2 separate regions of the Homo sapiens genome follow, and region 2 is linked to region 1. Evidence: promoter capture Hi-C in human tissues and cell types (Jung and others, 2019). All regions are on one chromosome and are shown on one strand. Each heading gives the region's core, a stretch centred on a gene start or on the middle of the fragment in contact. The rest is flanking DNA. Distances are from core to core; before and after follow the strand shown. Region 1 holds the start of SMC1B (structural maintenance of chromosomes 1B). Region 2 overlaps NUP50 (nucleoporin 50).

Region 1 (4,989 bases), core at 1,855-4,354:
GGGTTCGAGACCAGCCTGACCAACATGGTGAAACCCCGTCTCTACTAAAATACAAAAAATTAGCCAGCTGTGGTGGCGTGCGCCTGTAATCCCAGCTACTCGGGAGGCTGAGGCAGAAGAATCACTTGGATCCAGAAGGCAGAGGTTGCAGTGAGCTGATATTACACCACTGTACTCCAGCCTGGGCAAGAGAGCAAGACTCCATCTCAAGACAAAAGAAATAATTAATTAATTTTCAATGCCAAAACTAGGAAAGTAACATAAACAAAGCAAAGGAATACTATCAGCCACCGGAAATATGGCTTAGTTTTAGAGGTTTAGGGTCTTTCTAAAAAGAACTAGAAATAAATTGCTGCAAATTTATTTAGCTGAGTCTCAGTCAACTAACAGGTATGAAACGGCTTTTTTGGGTTAATGGATAATCTGCACATTGAGGGCTATTGTAAGACAGTGCATATGGACAAGATAAACATTCACTGAATTAAATTATTAAGTAATTTAAGTATTAAGTAACAAAACTAAACATAAACTTTTAAAATCAATAAGTCAATCCTTATTTAAATCTGCCTAAAATAAATACTTCTCATCCAAATCCATTTATTCCATTAAATTTCATTAATATTGTCCCTGCCTAATAAAGGTTATAGTCTGTCAAGAGAGTCAAGGCAGCATAACATACCACAAAGTGGCAACAACCCAAACTATCAACTGATGGATAAACAAAATGTAGTATATCTATACAGTGAAATATTATTTGAAAATAAGAAGGAAATAAGTACTAATACAAGGAGCAACATAGATGAATCTGAAAAACATTATGCTAAGTGAAAGAAGTCAGACACAAAAGGCCATATATTGTCTGATTCTATTTATACGAAATGTCCCAAATAGGTAAATCCATAGAGACAGAAAGTGAATTAGTAGATACCAGGAGCTAGGTGGAGAGGAAATAACAGGGAGTGATTGCTAATGAGTACAAGGTTTCTTTGGGGGCAATGAAAATGTTTTGGAAGTAGATGGTGATGATGGTTGCACAACTTTTGAATATACTAAAAACCACTGAACGGTGCATTTTATTTATTTATTTATTTTTACTTATTTATTTTTGAGATGCAGTCTTGTTCTGTTGTTGCCCAGGCTGGAGTGCAGTGGCGTGATGTCAGCTCACTGCAGCCTCTGCCTCCCAGGTTCAAGCGATTCTCCTGCCTCAGTCCCCTGAGTAGCTGGGACTACAGGCGTGCGCCACCACGCCAGGCTTTTTTGTATTTTTAGTACAGATGGGGTTTCATCATGTTGGCCAGGCTGGTCTTGAACCCCTACCTCCAGTGATCTGCCTGCCTCAGCCTCCCAAAGTGATGGAATTACAGGTGTGGGCCACCATGTCAGGCCTTATTTTTTTGTTGAGACAGAGTCTTGCTCTGTCGCCCAGGCTGGAATGCAGTGGCACAGTCTTGGCTCACTGCAACCTCCGCCTCCCGGGTTCAAGTGATTCTCCTGCCTCAGTCTCCCAAGTAGCTGGTATTACAGGCACGTGACACCACCCCCAGCTAATTTTTGTATTTTTAGTACAGACAGGGGTTTCACTATGTTGGCCAGGCTGGTTTCTAACTCCTGACCTAAGGTGATCCGCCCGCCTCGGCCTCCCAAAGTGCTGGGATTATAGGCATGAGCCACGGCGCCCGGCCAATTTTATTTTATATTTATCTTATTTTATTTTATTTTAGAGTCGAAGTCTCGCTCTTGTTACCCAGGCTGGAGTGCGGTGGTGCTATCTTGGCTCACTGCAACCTCTGCCTCCCGGGTTCAAGCGATTCTCCTGCCTCAGCCTCCTCAGTAGCCGGGATTACAGGTGCATGTCACCACACCCGATTAATTTTTGTATTTTTAGTAGAGACAGGGCTTCACCATGTTGGTCAGGCTGGTCTCGAACTCCTGATCTCATGATCCACCCGCCTCGGCCTCCTAAAGTGCTGGAATTACAGGTGTGAGCCACCGCGCCCAGCCTTTTTTTTTTTTTTTTTTTTTTTTTTGAGACGAGAGTCGCACTGTGTTGCCAGGCTGGAGTGCAATGGCGTGTCCTTGGCTCACTGCAACTTCCACCTCCCAGGTTCAAGCGATTCTCCCGCCTCAGCCTCCAGAGTAGTTGGGATTACAGGCGTGTGCCACCACACCCAGCTAATTTTGGTATTATTAGTAGAGACCTCCGCAGGTCCTCTGGCCTCTCCAGACCTCAGTTTCCCCAACTATAAAATGGGGAGAGCAGCCATGCGCCATGGCTAACCAAAGACGGTGTCGCCAGGAACTTAGGAAAAGCTCAGTAAACTGGGTCATCATCACTACATTCCTGGGTCAAAGCTCCCTTGGATCCAAATGGTGGTTCTGGCTGCTTGGAACCCATTACCTCCTCGACAGCTCCCTCTCACTTCAACTTCGGATGAGAAGGGAAAAGGGACGCGAGTGACCAGGGCCAAGGGCAAGAGCAGTCCCCGAAGCAGGAGTGAGGGCAGAGAACAGGGCCCAGGGCGGGACCGGGGCGGAGAGGAAGCGTCAGGACCCCCAGGGTGGGGGGCGAGGGTTGGGAGCCCCTGAGATGAAGGGCGAGGGCCGGAGCTGAGGTGGGGTGGGGTCCCTCAGGGTGTCGGAGGAGGGTCGGGAGCCAGGAGGTGGAGGGCGAGAGCGGGGCCCGAGGCGGGGCCGAGTGGAAGGGTCAGGACCTCCGAGGTGGGGCGGAGGGACAAGGGTCGGGACCCCTGAGGTGGACGGCGAGGACCGGGGCTGAGGTGGGGTGATGGGCAGGGGCTGGGCCAGGGCCAGGCCGGGATCCGGTCGCGGTCAGGCTCCGGGACTGGAAGGGGAAGGCCGGCCAGGCGCCCGCGGCAGACGCCCACACCCCACAGGCCACGTGTGGCCTGGACGCCTGGGACGGCGGAGGCGCTCCGGTGGCGCCCTGAGCTGCTCAGTTACCAGAGCCGTTGGGGCCGATGATGCAGGTGAACCTCCGGAAGGGGCCAATGACCTGGCGGCCCCGCCACGACTTGAAATTTTCCACAAGCAGCAGCTCCAGGTGGGCCATGGCGCCGCCCTCCACGCCTCACCCGCGTTATCAAGCGCCCGCGGAAAAAGCGCGGGAAGGGATTCGCCAAGTGTCGCGAGAAGAGAGCGAGACGCGGCAAGCGCGGAGCCGTTCCTTAGCAACGAGTTGTTGACATTTCCGAGAGAGCGGGAGCGTCTGTACCTCTGCGGCGTCACTGGGAGCCCGACGGAAAACTGCGCTAAAGGCTTGTCTTTCCCCTGCCCGACCGAAGGAGCCGACCTTGCCTGCGCTACAGCTTCCTTATTTTCGTCGCCTGTTCTCCTGATCCTGCGTGTTCTAAAAACCCCTTAGGCTTTCCATGGGTTCCCAGACCATGGCGGTGGCGCTGCCCAGGGACTTGCGGCAGGACGCCAACCTGGCAAAGAGGAGGCACGCGGAGCTGTGCAGGCAGAAGCGGGTCTTCAACGCCAGAAACAGGATAATTGGGGTGAAAGGGCAGGGGCCGGGACGGGGTTAGAGCGGCAGATGCGGGCGAGGGGCTGCGTGGAGGGGGAAAGGAGATGAGTTCTAGGATGAAACATCTGAGCCAGGAGGCAGCAAACGGCCTCCTGCAGGGCCAATAATGCTCCCTCTCGAGCTCGCCTGGAGTCACCAACGGTTCTCCTCCCCTGAGCCAGATTTTCTACAACTCGTTTACAGTGGGGCAGAGATTAAAAATAATAATAAGTAGGATTGTTATTACTGAATAAAATGATCTGGCTCTAACCCTTCTCCTCTGTTTTTCCATTTATAGGGAGACACTGAAGCCTGGGATGTTCAAGTTCATGACCAGAAGATAAAAGAAGCTACTGAAAAAGCTAGACATGAAACCTTTGGTGAGCATTTCCTGAATGCTTATCTATTGGTTTAGGATTGTGTGGCTTTAGACTCCAGTCTTCCCCACCGTCCCCCTGCCCCGCCTTTTTTTTTTTATTTTTTATTTTTTTTATTTAATAGAGATAGGGTCTCACTATGTTGCCCAGGCTGGTCTGGAACTCCTGCGTGCAAGTGATCCTCCCACGTCAGTCTCCCAAAGTGCTGGAACTACAGGCATGAGCCACGGTACCCAGCCCTCCTTTCTTCACATATATAAAAAGTTGTCATTTTCACACTCTTCTTCCTTTTAAATTTCACAATTTCTTGTGCCCAGTTAACTTAATGCACTGATTCTTCTCTTAAAAACAGCTATTGAATTCGAATGTGGATTATAAGAAATAGATTTTAAGGGTATATGTATGTTTTCCTTCATTTTCTTAAAAAACTGGATAGGAAAAGCCTTAAACACAGAAAGACACACACACACACTCACTTGCTCTGCTCAAAAGTTTAAGACCGTCTATGAAGGACAGCTGTTTATACCAGACAACACATATGTCCGGGCTCACACCCTCAAGCTGACTCAGAGACAGACATGATTCAAATCATAGTATTCAAGTACCTTGAATACTGTTATTCAAGGTATTATTATTCCACTTCAAATACAACTTATTTTCCCCTATCGTGTCCAACAATTTCAACAATTGTTGAAATTTCACACTTTGAGAGGCTAAAACTAGAGGATCACTTGAGACCAGGAGCTCCAGACTTGCCTGGGCAACAAAGCGAGACCCCATCTCTACAAAAAATAAATTGAAAAAAAAAAAAAAAAGAAATTTCAGTGTTTTTAAACACCATAAAGATTTTTATAATAGAAAAAAAAGCAGGATACAAAATTGTACATACAATGGGCTGTTATGTTTTTAAAATATTTTAAAATATGCTCAGAAGAAGAAGAGAGGAAATATGCCAAAATGTTAGCAGGGTAATGTTGGAGGGATAGAATTATGAGTAAACTTTATTTTCTCCTTTATACTGTTCTGTATGTTCTAAACATTTTATCTTTTTTATTAATATTTTTAGTTATGAGGTAATTCAAT
Region 2 (4,989 bases), core at 1,644-4,143, 230 kb before region 1:
TAGACCCTTTGTGTGCCAAGGGCTTTCTGTGTGCCTCGCACCAAACTGGCTACTGGGAACTCAGATGCGGTTCTCCGTGGCCAGGGTGCCTCCCACGCTAGGTTTGTTTGGGTATGGGATGTGTTGATTGCCTGATCCTGTTTTGAGGGAGTCAGTCAAAAACTCTTGGAATTAGCAACAGAGAATAGGATCACGGGTTAAAAGCTTGGAAATGATCCTGACTGGTTGGGTTGTATTTAGCTGATTATTCTGAGAGTATATACTGTTTGATTTTAATTTGGCAGAATGTTTAGTGTGATGTAAAATAAGTGTTCTCTGTTAAGTTTTGTTGTTGTTGTTGTTTTTTCTAAGTTGGAGTCTTGCTCTGTCACCAGGATGGAATGCAGTGGCGCGACCTCTGCTCACTGCAGCCTCCGCCTCTGGGTTTAAGCGATTCTCCTGCCTCAGCCTCCCGAGTAGCTGGGACTACAGGCATGCACCACCATGCCCAGCTAATTTTTGTAATTTTAGTAGAGACGGGGTTTCACCATGTTGGCCAGGATGGTCTTGATCTCTTGACCTTGTGATCCACCTGCCTTGGCCTCCCAAAGTGCTGGGATTACATCCGCGAGCCACTGTGCCCGGCCTCTGTTAAGATTTTTAACTACAGCCATCCCCTAGTATCCTGGGGATTGGTTTCAGCACCCCCTTGGATGTTCAAGTCCCATAGTCAGACCAGCATAACTCTTAGATAGGAAAAGTGAGTGTTCGTATCCACTGGTTTCTCATCCCCAGAGTACTGCATTGAGACAGGGTCTCGCTCTGTCACCTAGGCTGGAGTGTATTGGTGTGGTCTTGGCTCACTGCAGCCACAACCTCCCGAGCTCAAGTGATCCTCCCCCATCAGCCTCCCCAGTAGCTGGGATTATAGGTACACACCACCACACTCAGCTAATTTTTACATTTTTTGTAGAGATGGGGTTTTGCCATGTTGCCCAGGCTGGTCTCAAACTCCTGAGCTCAAGCGATTTGCCCACCTCAGCCTCCCAAAGTGTTGGGATTACATGCGTGAGCCACCACACCTGGCTGAGGACTGCATTTCACAGGTGTAGAACCTGCAGGTACAGAGGGGCGACTGTACTTTAATACTGTTCATCCCAACAACCTTGGGGATTAAGTGTTAATGCTGACCTGCTGTTCTAACAGTGCTGTTTGAAATAGGCATCCTTTTGTCTACTGCCACACCACCCTCGACGCGCCCGATCACATCTCAGATAGGCGTCCTTTTGAAGGAAAAGATTATTTTTAAAATGTGTAGAGCAAGCATATGGTGGTTAGTGTTCTTGTATAAACTTTGACTTGATCTTTATTCATCGGCTTTACTGATAACTGGTTACTAAATTCTACTCCTTGAACACATACTTTTTGAGCGGTCACAAAAATAGGGCACAGTAGGTCGGGCGCAGTGGCTCACGCTTGTAATCCCAGCACTTTGGGAGTCCGAGGCGGGCAGATCATGAGGTCAGGAGTTCAAGACCAGCCTGGCCAACATGACGAAACCCCATCTCTACTAAAATACAAAAATTAGCCGGGTGTGGTGGCGGGTGCCCGTAATCCCACCTACTCGGGAGGTTGAGGCAGGAGAATCGCTTGAACCTGGGAGGCAGAGGTTGCAGTGAGCCAAGATCGTGCCACGGCACTCCAGCCTGGGTGACAGAGCAAGACTGTCTTGGTGTGGGGGGAGATACAGTAAAAGCAGAAAGTATGAAGGCAGAGTGGCAAAAAAATCTAGATGATTTAATCAAATTAGGCTAAATAAATGGTTCAATTATTAACTTTCTATAGGTTCTCTTGCTGCAAATGGCCCTACCACCTTGGTTGATAAAGTTTCAAATCCCAAAACTAATGGGGACAGTCAGCAGCCCTCCTCCTCTGGCCTTGCTTCCAGTAAAGCTTGTGTCGGAAATGCCTATCACAAGCAGTTGGCCGCCTTGAACTGCTCCGTGCGGGATTGGATAGTGAAGCACGTGAATACAAACCCCCTCTGTGATCTGACACCTATCTTTAAAGACTATGAGAAATATTTAGCAAACATTGAACAGCAACACGGGAACAGTGGCAGGAATTCTGAAAGTGAATCTAACAAAGTGGCAGCTGAAACACAGTCTCCTTCCCTTTTTGGCTCAACAAAATTACAGCAAGAGTCAACGTTTTTGTTTCATGGCAACAAAACTGAAGATACACCTGACAAGAAGATGGAGGTGGCATCTGAAAAGAAAACGGACCCATCATCACTAGGAGCGACAAGTGCCTCATTTAATTTCGGCAAGAAAGTTGATAGCTCTGTTTTGGGCTCATTAAGCTCTGTCCCCCTGACTGGATTTTCTTTCTCCCCTGGAAACTCCAGTTTATTTGGCAAAGATACTACCCAGAGTAAACCAGTCTCTTCACCATTTCCCACTAAACCATTGGAGGGCCAAGCAGAAGGTGACAGTGGTGAATGCAAAGGTAAGTACCAGCTTTGTCGTTGAGTCGAGGTTTGCATAAGATTCTTGTTTCTTGGGAAACCCAGAGACTTTGATTCCAAATATGAGTCTGGATTCACATTGAGACGTTGTTCTCTCCATGTGTGATCTCAGACAGAGCTAATCAGCTTCTCTGAGTTTCAGATTCCTGCTTTATAAAAGAGTAAGACTTTTGTAGGGTTGTTTATAAGGATTAAAAATAAAATGAATTTGAAAACACCTGACTTTGAAAAGTCTCAAACACACATGGTTTAGCATATAAAAAACAAGTGAATTAAAGACGTTTTTTGAAAATTGTGTTTTTGGAAAAGTTCATCAAGTTCATCATGAATGTCCCCTGAATTGATTTGTACTTAGGAGATCTCACTGTAAATAAAGTCATGTGGCAAAACAGTACTTGACTATACATTACAAATGTAGACTTTTCATAGCCATAGAGAAGAAATCAACATTGTTTTCCTCCTGTGGGTTTGGAGGCGCCTCCTTTCCAGAGCGTGGCAGTGGTGTCTAAGTGATGTTTCCTGTGTGTATCGTCAGTGCCCCAGACAAGGCACAAGGTCTGGGCCCTCCAGACCTCTGTTGTTAGCTTAAAAAGTGGGGTGATGTCATGATGCTGCTTCCTCACATGGTGGTTGTGAACAGGTGATGTCTGTGAAGACACCTACTTCTAAGCAGTTGAAAGTGAGGCCAGGTGAGGTGGCCCACACCTGTAATCCCAGCACTTCGGGAGGCCAAAGTGGAAGGCTCACCTGAGGCCAGGAGTTTGAGACCAGCCTGGGCAACATAGCAAGACCCCATCTCTACAAAAATTTTTAAAAATTAGCCAGGCCAGGTGGTGGGCGCCTGTAGTCACAGCTACTCTAGAGGCTGAGGTGGGAGTATCTCGAGCTCAGAAGTTCAAGGTTGCCATGAGCCGTGGTTGCATCACTGCACTCCAGCCTGGGCAGCACAGACCTTGCCTCAACAAAAGAAAAAGTGTACTTCTCAGACATATGGACATACTGATCCTTGAGGAAGAAAACTGCATTTGCCAATTTGCCTCTGAAATATTACGGTTTTCTATCAGGAGTCTAGACTTCCATTACTGTTTTGCCTTGCCCTGCTTTCAAGTATATCCTCAGGCACGGGCCCTCTGGGCACAGGGTGAAATAAGGGTCTCCCCTTTTCTTTCTTCTCTGCCTCCCATAAATAAAACAAATGGGGAGTCTTTCCTGAGGCAGGCACTGGGGATTTGAATCGAGTCCCAGTGGAGGCAGGATGCCCCTCAGTGAGCGCCTGTTCCTTGTCCCTTGGTTATCACAGTTTAAGCATCAGAAGACTCGGGAGATTGGAGGGATAAGACGGACAGTCGTGTGACCTAATCATCTGAGCATCACAGTTGTTTTTCTTAGAATTGCTTTTTGGTGAGTTTTTATGCAACTGCCGTTCTCTTTAAGAGGATCCTTTTATATATGTGGGGTTTTTTATTTTTTTGAGACAGGGTCTCGTTCTGTCACCCAGGCTAGTAGTGCAGTGACGCAATCATAGCTCACTACAGCCTCTACCTCCTGGGGTGAAGCAATCCTCCCACTTCAGTCTGCCAAGTAGCTGGGTCCACAGGCACGTACCGCCACACCTGGTTAACTTTTTTATTTTTTGTAGAGATGGGGGGCGTCTCACCATGTTGACCAGACTGGTGTTGAACTCCTGGGCTCAAGCGATCTTCCTGCCTTGGCCCTGCAGCGTGCTGGGATTACAGGCGTGAGCCACTGTACACAGCCTAATACATGTGTTTAAATGATGGCCTAGGTCTCCCGTGTTTGGGAGACCCCGTTAGTGGGGATACCTTTGGTACCAGAGCAGTGACCCATGTGGCAATTCAGACAAAGCTTAAATTACTTACACTGGGGCTTTGGAATGATTTTTCTGACAACTTGTCCCCTGTTAAAAAAAAAAAAAGTATTTTTCTATCTTTGGCTATTACTGATACTTGTAGATGTAGTCACAGGAATATTCAGGGGTGAAGGTGTTAAAAACTCATCCGAGATGGAATTTTCCAGTGGGTAATTTGCATATAGAGTGTTGATTTTTTTTTTCTGTCATAAGCATGGAGATTTTTCCATTTTAAGGTTTTCTATATATTGGAAGTTATTTTAGAATTAAGAGGTATGTTCCCATTAAAAGGGATTCTTATTTTTCACAAAATAGTTAAAATCCTGCAGGTACTCCCTTCTGGCATCCCCCCCCCCCCCCATTAAGTGTGCATTTTAGTCTGTCAGTTTACATGGAGTGCTCCGGTGGAGGTTTAGGGTGTTACGTAACAAAACTTCAGTCACTTCTTTAAGCTCTGGATTGGAATCTTACTGAATTATTGTCATTTTTATAAAAGGTGGAGATGAAGAAGAGAATGATGAGCCACCCAAAGTAGTAGTTACCGAAGTAAAAGAAGAAGATGCTTTTTACTCCAAAAAGTAAGAATCCCCACAACCTGCTGGCGCATGTGTTT

What was found. The method cuts DNA at HindIII sites, captures the fragments that hold promoters and counts their contacts. A contact is called where the count stands out against the background at its distance.
Region 2: a fragment that was not itself captured here is called in contact with the fragment with the promoter of SMC1B in region 1 in 1 of the 25 tissues and cell types used here (spleen).

Annotation. Positions count from the first base shown.
Region 1 is chr22:45,410,495-45,415,483 of GRCh38, forward strand. It overlaps SMC1B (structural maintenance of chromosomes 1B), which reads right to left and starts at 3,105. Exons shown (of 25, transcript NM_148674.5): 1 at 2,965-3,105. The coding sequence starts at 3,073. It overlaps RIBC2 (RIB43A domain with coiled-coils 2), which reads left to right and starts at 3,199. Exons shown (of 7, transcript NM_015653.5): 1 at 3,199-3,521; 2 at 3,828-3,909. The coding sequence starts at 3,393. RefSeq lists an enhancer at 3,188-4,021. The HindIII fragment of the contact is 17,180 bases long and covers 1-4,989 here.
Region 2 is chr22:45,176,414-45,181,402 of GRCh38, forward strand. NUP50 (nucleoporin 50) reads left to right here. Exons shown (of 8, transcript NM_007172.4): 5 at 1,825-2,487; 6 at 4,873-4,954. All of the region lies in intron 3 of LOC105373064 (a long non-coding RNA gene), which reads right to left. Among named protein-coding and RNA genes, the nearest start is that of NUP50, 15 kb to the left of the region's middle. The HindIII fragment of the contact is 3,650 bases long and covers 1,069-4,718 here.